2 separate regions of the Homo sapiens genome follow, and region 2 is linked to region 1. The links are contacts of gene promoters, found by promoter capture Hi-C in human tissues and cell types (Jung and others, 2019). All regions are on one chromosome and are shown on one strand. Each heading gives the region's core, a stretch centred on a gene start or on the middle of the fragment in contact. The rest is flanking DNA. Distances are from core to core; before and after follow the strand shown. Region 1 holds the start of REEP2 (receptor accessory protein 2). Region 2 overlaps MATR3 (matrin 3).

What was found. The method cuts DNA at HindIII sites, captures the fragments that hold promoters and counts their contacts. A contact is called where the count stands out against the background at its distance.
Region 2: a fragment that was not itself captured here is called in contact with the fragment with the promoter of REEP2 in region 1 in 1 of the 25 tissues and cell types used here (lymphoblastoid cells).

What each region holds. Positions count from the first base shown.
Region 1 is chr5:138,433,260-138,440,740 of GRCh38, forward strand. REEP2 (receptor accessory protein 2) reads left to right here and starts at 5,798. Exons shown (of 8, transcript NM_001271803.2): 1 at 5,798-5,981. The coding sequence starts at 5,950. It overlaps KDM3B (lysine demethylase 3B), which reads left to right. Exons shown (of 24, transcript NM_016604.4): 24 at 2,361-3,768. The coding sequence ends at 2,441. RefSeq lists a silencer at 5,626-6,045 and an enhancer at 6,431-6,964. The HindIII fragment of the contact is 10,254 bases long and covers 5,126-7,481 here.
Region 2 is chr5:139,324,656-139,332,136 of GRCh38, forward strand. It overlaps MATR3 (matrin 3), which reads left to right. Exons shown (of 15, transcript NM_018834.6): 13 at 785-1,007; 14 at 1,508-1,629; 15 at 4,690-7,022. The coding sequence ends at 4,740. Among named protein-coding and RNA genes, the nearest start is that of PAIP2, 13 kb to the right of the region's middle. The HindIII fragment of the contact is 3,855 bases long and covers 1,018-4,872 here.

The sequences.
Region 1 (7,481 bases), core at 4,548-7,047:
TGCCACTGTGCCCGGCTAATTTTTGTAGTTTTTTAATAGAGACGGGGTTTCACCATCTTGGCCAGGCAGGTCTTGAACTCCTGACCTCATGATCCACCCGCCCTCGGCCTCCCAAAGTGCTGGGATTACGGATGTGAGCCACTGCGGCTGTTTTTTTTTTTTTTTTTGAGACAGTCTCACTCTGTCACCCAAATGAAAGTGCAATGGTGTGATCTTGGCTCAACTGCATCCTTCGTCTCCTGGGTTTAAGTGATTCTCCTGCCTCAGCCTCCCATGTAGCTGGGATTGCAGGCATGCACCACCATACCCAGATAATTTTTGTATTTTTTGGTAGAGACGTGGTTTCACCATTTTGGCAAGGCTGGTCTCGAACTCCCGACCTCAGGTGATCTGCCCGCCTCCACCTCCCAAAGCGCTGGAATTACAGGAGTGAGCCACTGCACCCAGCCAACCATAGTTTTTATACAAAGTATAATCAACGTTGGTGTTTGTTTATTGAGATGGAGTCCCGCTCCGTTGCCCACGCTGGAGGGCAGTGGCGTGATCTTGCCTCACTGCAGCCTCTGCCTCCTGGGTTCAAGCGATTCTCCTGCCTCAGCCTCCCGAGTATCTGGGGATTACAGGCACGTGTCATCACACCGAGCTAATTTTTGTATTTTTAGTAGAGACAGGGTTTCACCATGTTGGCCAGGCTGGTCTTGAACTCCCGACCTCAGGTGATCCACCTGCCTCGGCTTCCCAAAATGCTGAGATTACAGGCGTGAGTCACCGTGCCCGTCCAACATTGGTGTTTACATAGAATGAGAATATAAAGGTAACATGTCACCTTATCCATAACACCTTTCCCGAGCTAGGGATGTTGGGTGTGTTTCTGCAGTCCCAGCCACTCAGGAGGCTGAGGTGGGAGGATTACTTGAGCCCAGGAGTTTTGAAGCTCTCGTGACCTATGATCACCCCACTACACTCCAGCCTGGGCAACAGACTCTGTCTCTTTATTTAAAAACAACAGGCTGGGCGCGGTGGCTCACGCCTGTAATCCCAACACTTTGGGAGGCCGAGGTGGGCAGATCACAAGGTCAGGAGTTCGAGACCAGCCTGGCCAATATGGCGAAACCCCGTCTCTACTAAAAATACAAAAATTAGCCAGGCATGGTGGTGGGCGCCTGTAGTCCCAGCTACTTGGGAGGCTGAGGCTGGAGAATCGCTTGAACCCAGGAGGCGGAGGTTGCAGTGAGCTGAGATGGCGCCACTGCACTCCAGCGTGGGCAACAGTGTTAGACTCCATCTCAAAAAAAAAAAAAAAAGACCTTTCCTGACTACCCTGTTTAGAATAACAACTCCTGCTCCAGCACTACCAGTCCCACTTTCACTACTTTATTTTTCCTGTAGTATTTTCACCATCTGAGATATAGCTATAGATACAGATATAGATATATTTTTTTAATCTGTTACTTAACCCTACTAGAATGTAAGCTATTTAAGCTCTGTGAAGGCAGGAATTTTACATTTTACTCACTGCTTTTCCTTAGCACAATGTCTGACACATAGTAGGTATTCATAAATCTTTGTTGAAGCAATGCAAAAAAATTAATGGAGAATAGTAAAAGAAGGACTTGGATGCCCATGACCCAGCTTAAGAAATTATAGCACACATACATATACAGCAACTACATGGTTGAAGCCCCCATGTACCCTTCCCCTTTGCATTTCCCCGCTTTTCCTCCCCAGAAATAACCTCAGTTTTCTTGTCAGCCCTTTAAAAGAAAGCTGTCTTTATTCTCTTCACCTTAATATGCCTGTTCACTTTTTTCAATAACTTTTATTGTGTGTTCCAATTTCACAGGTAATATATCCAAATCAGAAAACATATAAGCACGAAGGGAAAAAATAGGCCATAATCCTGCTTTCCCCTCTTGTTTTAATGCATCCTTATTAGCTGTAGAACCTTAAGGAAGCCTCTTAACCATATAAGGAAACAAAGTTCTCCAGGTGTTCACTGTGGCCTTAGTTTCCGCAGTTTCTCCTCTGTAAATTGGGCATGATAATAATAGAACCTACCTCATAGGATTCTGTCAAGGATTAAGCAAAGGTCCACATAAAGAGCTCAGCAGCAGCGCCTGCCCAGGACATAGTAAGCACATAAATGATGGTGATCAGATGGCCTTTCACATAACTTCATTATTCTTTTTTGAGTACACACCTCATGCCCTATGTGATTTGTAAATGACTGTGGGGATTGATACAGGAACGCACAGTCCTTTTTGGGAGTTTCCCCACTAAACCAGTAGGCTTACAGTCAAGGTAGAACGTACATTTGCATGGGGCTGCTGTGAACTGACTTTGCTGTACACCTTCTCTAGGTGAAGAACATCATTTACCATGCAGTGAAAGATGCGGTTGGCACCCTCAAGGCTCATGAATCCAAACTGGCAAGGTCCTAGGCATGGAGAAACTCCAAGCTCCTCTGTGAAGCAGGTCTTTCACTCACAACACTTAACAGGGAACGGCAGGGCTCTTTGCTGGAGCAGAGGCCCTTCACCCAGAGCCAGTGTGGTCAGTATTCCAAACTCTCCAGCCACTCTCTTCTACGCTGCCTCAACACTGAAGGTTGACACAGGAAAGTCGTACTGTTCACACACACAGTTTGAGACTCCAAGCCAAGAGTGCCACATCCCTATCCTGTGGCCTTTTGGAAATCCAAATTGCCTGAACATGGCGGGGCTTTCCTGCACATTCTCCTGATTTGAGATTCACGGGCACACCTTTCTTTTCTTTTCCTCTTGTGCCTAGTTAAGTGGAAATGTGTTTGGAGATAGGGGAAATCACATAACTGGTACAAGTATGGGGTAATTGCTTAAACATGCCTGGTGGAAGTCTGATAGCGTCTCTGCACGTGACCTCTGACAAAGCCCATCCCAGGAGACGGGGTGAAGCTATTCCCCACACTCTCCTGTGAACACTGGAGTCTTGCAAGACCCAGGGAGAACCCACTGCTTTTCCCAGGAGGCTCCAGGATTAGGAAATGTGTGTATTTAGTGAAAAATAGGTTTGTAGTGAAATAGTTACTATTTCATGAAAGTAGATATTTTTAGAATTTTTGAAATACCACAGTTGTTTTCCTGGATTATAAGGAAAGGCACATTACATTTAGTCTTCCTTTCGATATAAAACTCTTTGAAGAAATATGATTTTTAGAAATCAGCTACCCATTATAGCACAAAATCAGCCAAAGCAGAATTTTTAAAAATTGGCTTTTTTAGGATTCTTTTTCTCCCCCTCCCATCTTAGTCTTACCTTGAGGGAACAGTCATATGAGAAGGAACTTTGTCACATCTAAGCTGTGGTGTGTTCCCCATGTGTGTGTACAACACTGGTGACTCCAGGAACCATTTTCACCTATTACCAGTGTTCCCTGGGGACTCCTCTTAATGTTTCCAAATGGGAAGGACAGTTGATTTCCAACATGAGGTTTTTTGTTTTTTATCCAGAAATATTTTCAGCAAAACTTTCCAACTGAGTGGAGTCTGATTAAGGATTTATTTGAAAATGGTGGGATTCATTGGCCCATAGGTACATTGGAAAATGTATATCTCTCCAGCTGTACTGTAGTGCCCTGCAGGCTGTTTATATGTTCACAGTTACTTTTTTTTTTTTTTTTAAATAAAAGTCATTTAATGTAGAATACTTTTAATTTCACTTTCTGTATTTTAATTTTGTTGAAGGGCTGATTGGGATTTCCATGTTCTTATTAAAAATCTAACAAATCTGTTTGGAGTGGACTAAATTATTCGTGTACCAACCCTTCTAAAATCAACATCAGATTGGGAGTTGGGTTGGAGGTGGGGGATTCATTTCCAGGTCTTCATGACTGTGCTACACCCAGATATTTTTCTTTGCTTGTTGAGACTGTGCCATGTTAGAAAAAAGGAAAGTGCCAGGGTGAGGTCAGTATGGTTTGGGGAATTGGGGGTAAGGGGAAGGGGCCACATGAATTAGAGGGTAGAAAGAGAGACATGTTTCCCCATACTTTATGCTTTGTGAATGGAGTGGGAAAGTTGGGGTCCTCCCTTCCTGTGGCAGAGTCTGGGGGGAAGGGTCATGGTGTGTGGCCTCAGCAAAGTTGGACAGTCTGTGGTGGGATTCTTAAGCAGGCAGCCTGGCTGCCTACATGAAACGTGTGGCCATAGATCCACCTTAGAGATGGTGGGAGACACTCATGTGGGATTTATCAAGCAGTAATTAAAGTGTTTCATTGTGGGGTGATAACAGACTGCATTCCAATTAGGAGATGTTTTCTGGAGAGGAAGTTGTAAAGAATAGCAAGAGGGGTTATCAGAGGCTGCTTTTCTGGAACGTTTTGGGAAACATCTTCCAAAGTGTTTGAACCTGGAAATATAATTTACCAGGTTAGAAATAGACCATTGTGTTGTTCAGGGATACTGAGCTTGAATAAGACCATGACTCTTTGAAATACACAGTTCTGAATGTGTCCTTTCAGCCCAGATGGGCACAGGTTGATGCTGTGGTCACCCGAAGGATTACAACTCAACATAAAGGGTAGAGGAATGCAGAAGCTCTAAAATGGGACAGGAAAGGAGAGCAATAGGGCTGGGGGTGTTGGTGGATGGTTGGAGGTTGGTTGCTTTCCTGAAGATCAGGAGGCAGGCTAGCCTACATTCTGGATATAAATGTCTTTAGAATCAGGACATTCACTGCCACTAGTGCTTGCTGATGGGGGTGGAACTGGAGCCCCAGGACCCTCTCGCAGCCCCTCTGTTTGAAAAGAAGGTTGACCCTTTGTTGTCAGTAACCACATTGAGAGCATAAAGCTCTGTTCCGCTGCAAAGCTTAGGAGCTGACAACCTAAAAAAGCAGACCAGCAGCCCGGTGGCTCACACCAGTGATCCCAGCACTTTGGGAGGCTGAGGCGGGTGGATCGCTTGAGCTCAGGAGTTGGAGATCAGCCTGGGCAATATTGCAAAACCCCATCTTGGCAAAAAAAAACAAAAAACAAAAAAACAGGAATTAGCTGGTGGTGTTTTGGGCCTGTAGTCCCAGCTACTCGGGAGGCTGAGGCGGGAGGATCATTCAAGCCCAGGAGGTGTGCTGAGATTGTGCCACTGCACTCCAGCCTGAGCGACAGAGTGAGGACCTGTCTCAAAAAAACAAAACATCATCTGGTCAGGGGAGATCCTCTTTCAACGGGGTGAGAAGGAGTGGGGTGGACAGGTGCGGCTGTACCTGTGACTCAGGAGCTCAGGTGGATGTCTTCAGGGCCTGTAATGAGGAGAGTTTGCTAGTCAGCAGTTGGGGGATGTAACCTGTTTAAAGTAGGCTTCCTGGGGTCATCTTAGCAGCATGACTTGGTGGCTTTGTGACTCTCAACAGATTATTGAGCCTTAAGCTTCTCATTCCCTTATCTTCAAAATGAGGGCTTTTATAGCGCCTGCCTTATAGGGTGGTCAAGAGGATTCACTGGCAACGCAGTGAAGCTCTTAGCACAGGGGCTGGCACACAGTAAGCGCCTGGTGTGGGCAGGGCAGGAGGTGGGCAGGGGTCGATTTCAGGATGTAACCATGGAGACCTCCACGACAACAGCCTAGGGCTTGAAACCCAAGAAAGATGAACAAGCGATTCGAGGAAGGCAGGGCACTGAGGGTCGGAGGCGCATGCCCGGCCACAGCAGGTGCCGGGGCGGGGGCGCGCCGCCGCCGCCGCGGCGGCCTCCCGGCCTCCCCTTTAAGAGCCGCCACCGCCCACGGCCCGCCGCTGCGGCAGGGACCTCCCCTTTAACGGCGGCGCTGGGCGCTCCGCTGCCCCCGCGGCGGCTGCTGCAGCGGCTGCTGCTGCTACTGCGGCTCCTGCTGCCGCCGCCGCCGCCGCTCGGCCTCAGGCAGCTGCATCCTCGGCCGGGCCGGGTCCCCGCCCCGCGCCGCGCCCGGCCCCGCCATGGTGTCCTGGATCATCTCTCGCCTGGTGGTGTGAGTGCGGCGGCGGCGGGGGGTGATGCGGGCTGTGATGGAGGGCGGGGGTGTTAAAGCCCGGGTGGACTTCTCCGAAGCTTCGTGCAGCAGAGTCACCTAAAGGCGCTGCGTCCTTATTTGGGGCCCCCAGAGACATGGAGATGTGGCACCCAGGACTGGAGGGGGGAATATTAGGGGAGCGTGGCAGGCCTGGCTTCCCAGGGACCTCACCCACATTCTTTATTAATAACCTCTTTTATTTCTACCGTCCTTGCTCCTGCGCCCATCCTAGAGGCTGAGCAGCACGGCTTGATTTAAAAGGGGAGGCAGGCGCGTCCCCTCCCCCACCTAGCAGGTCTGGGCTGGAGGAGATCCTCAGACCCGGGCCCTGTCCCTCTGGGGGAGGTAACAGGGTGATGGAAGAGAGTGGAGCAAGGCAGGGCCTCATCATCATTCCGCAGCTCAGAGCCATCACCAGGCCCCTTGGTCTCTCCCTTCCACTCACTGTCAGGAGACTGGGGACGAGGGCATATGCCCTTAGGCCCCCTAGGGAGGAAGTCTGGGTATCGGGAAGCAGAAATGCTCGGAGGACAAAGTGTGAGAGGTAACTGGGAGAGGGGATGTGTGTGCTCAGCCTGGGATTGTGGACCCCGCTGGGGGAGGACGCTCCGTGGCCTTCATTCCAGGCTGCCAGCCACACTGTGGAGCTGTGTCTCTGGCACCTCCCCGGGCCCCAGGAGGGAACACACACCATTCCCCACGAGCCCAGACTTTGTCCTTGAGGATTCTGCTCCGCACTCCACTTGCACCAGCCGGTTTGGAAGTATCCCTCCTGTCCATGTGGAAACAGGCGACAGCCACACATTGTCAAGGGGCTGAGCCTGACAGGGGCTCCTCGTGGTTCTCGGAGCTATCCCCTGCCCTAATGAGGACACTGCCCCTCGGCCTCCACCGTTGGGGACTGACACCGGCAGCCCCACCCTGCTCCCTTCTTCCCATTCGGTACAGCCGGGCCGGCCAAGTGCTTCTGTCCTGGTTTACTCTAGACTCCTTCTCTTCCCCCACCCATCCCAGGGGGAATGGAGGGGCCTCACGCCTCCATGTGGCCTTCAGGGTGGCTGCTTCTCTCTTGCCTGGGCAAGCCCCAAAGGGCATCGGTCCTCTTCTTTCCCGGCCTGTGTCTTGTCTGCATTCTGTACTTGGATCACCAGCGGGGCCCTCCCCTGAGCCCTGTCCCTGTGGTGTTTACATGGGGGAATAAGCCTCTTTGCCTCTCTCAGGGCCTCCTGCCCCTGTGCCCTCTGTTCCCTAGGGCCCCAGGGCCACAGTGGTACCTCTGCCTGCCAGGTAGGGTGCCCTGTTAGGTGGTGTCAGGTTCCCTCGCAGAGCCTGGCTCTGAGGGAGGTGGAGGGTAAGGGCAGATGGGTGTGAATGGGCATGAGGTCAAGAAGGAAGACACCCTGTGGCAGTGACCTGACTCCCAGTCTCCATGACATATTTGTGTGTAACCAAGGATCA
Region 2 (7,481 bases), core at 1,695-4,194, 890 kb after region 1:
AGTATACTGTCTTACAAAGGATATTGCTCAACTTTTACCAAATCAAGTTTTTTACACATTGCCTAGCAGCATTGTAGTCTCAGAAAAGATAAAATATGAATATTCCTATCTCATTTAACTTCTGCTCTTTGTGTGAGGCAGACCTTCCATTTTTTAGTTTTAAAATAAGCTAAATTATTTTTCAAATTATCAGTAATTTTTTGGAAGAAAGGAAGAAGTTACTATTTTGAGCCAATGAATAAAGACAAAGACGCGGCCGGGCACGGTGGCTCACGCCTGTAATCCTAGCACTTTGGGAGGCCGAGGTGGGTGGATCACGAGGTCAGGAGATCGAGACCATCCTGGCTAACACAGTGAAACCCCGTCTCTACTAAAATTACAAAAAAAATTAGCCGGGCGTGGTGGCGTGCGCCTGTAGTCCCAGCTACTCGGGAGGCTGAGGCAGGAGAATGGCGTGAACCAGGGAGGCGGAGGTTGCAGTGAGCCGAGATCGCGCCACTGCACCCCAGCCTGGTCGACAGAGCAAGACTCCGTCTCAAAAAAAAAAAGGCAAAGACGCTATCCGTTTCCCTTCAAGTAAAGCAGACAGAAGGGATGCTGCAGGATAATTGTTGCAGAGTAAATTTGTCTTTCTTAACAGCGTCGTTTTCCAGGGAGTATGGAAGGTTTTGTCACTCTAGATGAGGTTGGTGATGAGGAAGATTCGGAACTTCAGAAACTTCGTAAATCGGGCATGGCATTTAAATCTGGTGACAAAAATGATGATGGTTTGGTTGAAATTAAGGTGGACAAGATCGAGGAACTTGATCAAGAAAACGAAGCAGCGTTGGAAAATGGAATTAAAAATGAGGAAAACACAGAACCAGGTGCTGAATCTTCTGAGAACGCTGATGATCCCAACAAAGATACAAGTGAAAACGCAGATGGTCAAAGTGATGAGAACAAGGACGACTATACAATCCCAGATGAGTATAGAATTGGACCATATCAGCCCAATGTTCCTGTTGGTGAGATTTAAGTCTTTGTTCTTCACCTTCCTCACTCTCCTCAAAACAAACTCTTAGGTTTTAAAATAAGATTTTAAAGTTGGTCTTACATAAGCTGTGATAGCATTTTAAATTTGCTTTGTTTCTATGGGGAACAATTTATAAATCTTAATTGATATATTTTCCTCTCATGCATGTCTCTGATTTTGTATTATTTTCTGTTGTTATTCCACAATGTGTTCCCTTTTTTCGTAAAATTTCTTGCAAGTTACACGCTTTTGTTTTGCTTTTCTGTGTTGTTTTTCTGTATTATATTTCTTTTTTTAAGAATACAGTTAGGTGAGACCTCAAACATCAATTAGGTAAAAGCAAAATATGGTTCGGTTTTTGTTTTTTATCTTAGGCTGTATTGGACTTCTCAAAAACATGTTGTTTCATTTAAATTATGTTGACAGGTGAAATTGTGAATACTAAATAAAATCTTCAGTTTAATTTGTAAGAATGTATGTTTGTATTTCTAGGTATAGACTATGTGATACCTAAAACAGGGTTTTACTGTAAGCTGTGTTCACTCTTTTATACAAATGAAGAAGTTGCAAAGAATACTCATTGCAGCAGCCTTCCTCATTATCAGAAATTAAAGGTAAGGTTGAATGTAAAACAGTTCTTTTGTGAAAACTTAACAAGTTATGGAAATAAGTGGGGTATATAAGTAAAATGTGTATAGTGTTCTCTCTAGACTCAGTGCAGTGCTTTCTCCTGAAGATAACTTTTTATTTACTTTTTTTTTTTTTTTTAAAGACAGTTTCTCTCTTGTTGCCCAGGTTGGATTGCAATGGTGCAATCTTGGCTCACTGCAACCTCTACCTCCTGGGTTCAAGCAATTTTCCTGCCTCAGCCTCCCAAGTAGCTGAGATTACAGGCATGCACCACCACACCCAGCTAATTTTTGTATTTTTAGTAGAAATGGGGTTTCACCATGTTGGCTAGCCTGGCTGGTCTTGAACTCCTGACCTCAGGTGATCCACCCACCTCAGCCTCCCAAAGTGCTGGGATTACAGGCATGAGCCACCGCGCCTGGCCTTTTCTTTCTTTATTGATGGGTTATCAAAACATCTGTTGAACCTCTTGTCATAGTTTACCCTTGCTACATAACAATTTAGTGTTTTCTAACCATATTATAAATTCTGTGGTAGAATTAAACTTATTCAAGTATTCTCAGATTGTTGTTGGGCTGTACTTTCTCTAATTTGAAAGATGCTGGGAGTCTGAATACTAAAAGTGGCATGACCATTCATATTAAAATAATTTTTAATATTGACATTATTATTGACACTTCAGTTATTTTTATGACCAAAAGTATATAAAGATCAAAAGCATAAATACATAAACCACAACATCACTAAAGAATAATTCCTATTGAGATATATTGAAATTTGTTTTTGTAATTATCAGCTTCTTTGGACTACCTATTGAAATAGTGACTGAAACTTAAAAGTAGTTGCTAAACAAGTCAATTATAGATACCTTGGTTTTTCACACTGCTTTATAATAAGTTAACTATAGTTACTCAGTCATTAGATATGTTCTCTGTTGACTAAATGGATGAATGTAATCTTTAATTTTGGAAATAATTCAAGTTCTTGGCTGTGTGTCACTTCTGTTTTTTTTTTTTTTTTTAAATGTAACTGCTCTTTGCCACCTATATGTCTTTTACCATCCTGTATATGAAGAAAGAATTGTGGCTATTTGCAATGGTAGCAGCAATGTAGTACAAATTATTTTATTTTATTTTTTTGAGACAGTTTTGCTCTTGTTGCCCAAGGCTGAAGTGCAATGGCGCGATTTTGGCTCACCCCAACCCCCGCCTCCCAGGTTCAAGCCATTCTCTTGCCTCAGCCTCCTGAGTATCTGGGATTACAGGCATGCGCCACCATGCCCAGCTAATTTTGTATTTTTAGTGGAAATGGGGTTTCTCCATGTTGGTCAGACTGGTCTTGAACTCCCAGCTTCAGATGATCCTCCCACCTCAGCCTCCCAAAATGCTGGGATTACAGGCCTGAGCCATAGTGCCCGCCCTGGTACAAATATTTTTATCTGCTTTGATTTTAAGCTGTTTGGGGTCAAAAACTATATGTATTGTCGAGAAGAATATGGAAATAATATAAAAGATTGCTAGGTGCTTCTTGTGGCTCCTTTTATTATTTCCTTATATTTTATTTATTTTTTTTTTATTTGAGACAGAATTTTGCTCTTGTTCCCCAAGCTGGAGTGCAATGGCACAATCTCAGCTCACTGCAACCTCTGCGTCCCGGGTTCAAGCAATTCTCCTGCCTCAGGCTCCCGAGTAGCTGGTATTACAGGCGTGTGCCACTTCGCCTGGCTAATTTTTTGTATTTTTAGTAGAAACGGGGTTTCACCATGTTAGCCAGGCTGGTCTTGAACTTCTGACCTCAGGTGATCGCCTGCCTCAGCCTCCCAAAGTGCTGGGATTACAGGCGTGAGCCATCATGCCCGGCCTATTATTTCCTTTTATTAAAAAAAAAAAAAAAACTTTGTCACCTTCATCAAGAAACTGTTAAGCATTACAGTAACTTGCTAATGGTAAATTGATACTTTCCTAACTGGATGTTTGTGGGGTGATTTTTTGTTGTTGTTGTTTTTCTTTAAAAGATATAATGGCTTTTAATTCTTACTATTTTGCATTAACTATATAAAGTTGAAATTCCAATGAGATGGAAAGAAGCTTTGGACATTTTAGGTTAGATTTTTTAATATGTCTTTTGTACTTTCATTAGTGTCTTAATGGAGCTCCCGTGTCTAGAAACTCTAGCAGTCACAGGTTTAATGGCAGGGGTCAGCAAGCTACACTCGTGGCTCAGTCATCTGTTTTTGTAAGGTTTTATTAGAACCCACAGCCATAATCATTTAAGTGTCATCTATAGTTGTTTTAGTTTATAATTGAGTGCAGGATTGAGTAGTTGTAACAAAGACTGAATGGCCCAATGAGTCTAAAATATTTACTGCTGGCCTTGCAAGAAAATGTTTGTTCAGGTGATTTAATGAGTAGTGCATTGAGGCCAGATGTGATAGCTCTTGCCTGTAATCCCAGCACTTTGGGAGGCGGGGACAGGCAGATCACCTGAGATCAGGAGTTTGAGACCAGCCTGGCCAACACGGTGAAAACCCCGTCTCTACCAAAAGTACAAAAAAATTAACTGGGCTTGGTGGCGGGTGCCTGTAATCCCAGCTGCTTGGGAGGCTGAGGCAGGAGAATCACTTGAACCTGGGAGGTGGAGGTTGCAGTTAGCCGAGATCACGACACTGCACTCCAGCCTGGGCAACAGAGCAAAACTCTCCCTCAAAAAAAAAAGAATAAAAGTGCATGTCATTTAAACCCATAGTTCTTGAATAGTGTCAGTTCAGTGTGACTGTGGTCTTTGTTTTCTCATCTCTAAAAATTAGGGTTAATTATAACATTTGAAATACCCATTTTATACCTTTTACCATTTTTTCCCCGTGCCTTATTGTAATGTCCTGAAAGTTTTTGTGTGCTAATGAGGATTAACTAATTGTTGAAAATATTGACAAAATTATAGTTTAAGTCCCTAAACTTGGATATAGGATATTTGATTTTGGAATTAATCCATTTTGCTGCATTTCTCTTAGGTGACTTAATGGCTGTAATTCTCTTTCTTTATAGAAATTTCTGAATAAATTGGCAGAAGAACGCAGACAGAAGAAGGAAACTTAAGATGTGCAAGGAGATTTAATGATTTCAAAGAAAATAATGGTTCTTTGTTTTTAATGTTAACCTTTTTTAAATACAATACTGATAGTTAGAAGAAAACTATTGTACTCTTTTGTTTTAGTGGAGAAATAATAGATGTCTGTTCATGTGTTAAGTGTTATAGCAAAAAAAATACACATATGGTTAAGTTAATGAATAGTTTTTGTTTTATCAGAATGGCAACAGACAGAAGTACTTTGTAGAGATTGACTTCCTAAGCTACTTAAGACAACTTGCACCACTAAGAAAAAAATGTAGAACCATTTGGAAAAATGAAATTTAGTAGTTCCAAGTTTCAAAGAAATGTCAACATTTTATTCCATTCAATAAAGAACAAAACCAATAGTGTTTTTATTACTTTCATCTGAAACATTCCATGTTTTAATCTGAGCCTTGCAGACTTTCATTTGGAGTTTGAACCCGTTTTGGTTGCATTTCATTTTTGGAGAACTTAATTAACGTGAGATTGGCAATTGAAATGCAGGTGCAGTTTTCTGTTAATGTCATGCTGTTGTTTAGGTAATAAGAAATATTAAGTAATTGGCTTTAGATTTTGTAATTTTTTTCCCTGAGTTCCTGCTAGATTTCGTATTCTAGTAGTCAATGTATTTTCAGTGAAATGCAAAAATATTCCCGTTATCTTTGACCAGTATTAATTTTTGAGATCTTACTGCTTGTCACTTGAATCCCGTGATTGTCATACATCTCTGGTATAAGCAACATTTGATTTTTGAAGTGTGTAGACCATCTCTTCATATTTTCAAGATGTAATTTTACATTTCTGCATTTTTAAAACAGTTTGGCCATAATCCTAGATGCACGCTTCTAATTCATGTACCTGCACATGTGACCTTTGTGAACAGAAATTTGCATGTATAATTTGTGTTTACTTGTAACTTTCTGGTTATATACTGCTTATATCTGTGGATTCAAGTTACTGAAGTGAATACCAATAAAAAGAAAACCCTAGGCCATGTTAATTGGTTATACATGTTTGGAATGTTAACCAACGTATTTGTCAGTTGTGGTTTTTATTCGCTCTTAAACTTTGTGCATGCTTTAACAATTTATTACTTTTAAATCTAGAGTGAATTCTAAAGACTGCCGCTAAAGATCTGAGTTTTAAAAATGTTGTTGCTGGTGGATTTCTTGTTCCTGTTACATAACTAAAAGTGAGGCCATTTGTGGTTTTTAAAAACCTTATGAATTAAAAATGCTACAGGTGAACAAACAGAAGCTTATGTTTAGAGATATTGATGACTTAACAGTACAATTGGAAGTAATACGGATGAGCAAGAATTAGTTCTGCAGCTTTTCAAAATAATTACGTAGAGACTCTTGGTATATTGGATTATCTGTTGTAAACAATTTTTTTTTCTTCCCTGACACAGGGTCTCACTCTGTCACCCAGACTGGAGTGCAGTGGCACAGTTCTCTGCAACCTCAGCCTTTGGGCTCAAATGACCCTCCTACCTCAGTCTCCTGAGTAGCTGGGACTACAGGCTCATGCCACTATACCTGGCTAGTTTTTGGTTTTTTTGTATAGATGGGGCTTTGCCATGTTGCCCAGGTTGATCTTGAATTCCTGGGCCCAAGTGATCTGCTCGCTTCAGCCTCCCAAAGTGCTGGGACTGTAGGCATGAGCCACCATCCCTGGCCAAGAAACAAAGTTTTAATTTCAAAAAAATCTACAAAAACAGGATAGGCATTGTCTTTCAAATGTTCAGACCCCAGTTTATTAAAGGATACTTCAAATAGTTGGCTAAATTTTATGATCTCTCCCGTTGAAAAGTAGGTGATGATTTTAATGTGACATGCACAAAAAATCCTTGCCAGTTTACTTCTGCAATTTAATTTTAGCCTTTACTAATTACCCACTTCTGTTTAATTCCAATTTTTAACAGCAGGTACATAAAGCATTATGTGCACAATGGAGTTCTTCAGTGTTTCCTTTCAGTGATGGCTTTTTCATAGCTTCAACTTTGTTGGATTTAGCAAGTTGAAGGAAAGAATGCTATGTTTTTAATACCTACATTTGAGAGCATTTAGAAATCAGAAATTATAATAAGCTGTTAGTGATAAATCTGTAACAGCCCTTCGATTACGAGAAAACCTCTTTTTAGTAGGAATGTTTCCACTCATGTTTGCTGTAAAGTTTAAGAACATTTTTCCTACGGCTATGTCAGCCCTTAGTTTAATCTTACATTATCCTACAAAAGTGAATGAAACTTCTAGAAGTACCTTGAGTTTGTTTTACAGTTCTTTTTTATTGACCGATTGCTAGTAAATTTGGGATCTGAGAGTGTCCTTTATAAGACTTTAATTGGATAGCTGTAATATTGCTTTGAGTATTCCAAAAATAAGTTCATTTGAAATGTTATTCAAGAATATGAATTTCCAACCATAGTGTGTGTGCATCAGTACCTCTAGAGATTTATTTATTTATTATTATTTATTTTTTTTTTTGAGACTGTGTCGCCCAGGCTGGAGTGCAGTGGAATGATGTTGGCTGAATTCTCCTGCCTCAGCCTCCCAGGTAGCTGGGACTACAGGTGCATAACTGCCATGCCCAGCTAATTTTTCTTAGTAGAGGCGGGGTTTCACCATGTTGACCAGGCTGGGCTCAAACTCCTGACCTCAAGTAATCTACCTGGCCTCCCAAAGTTTTGGGATTACAGGCATGAGCCACCACACCCAGTCCCTCC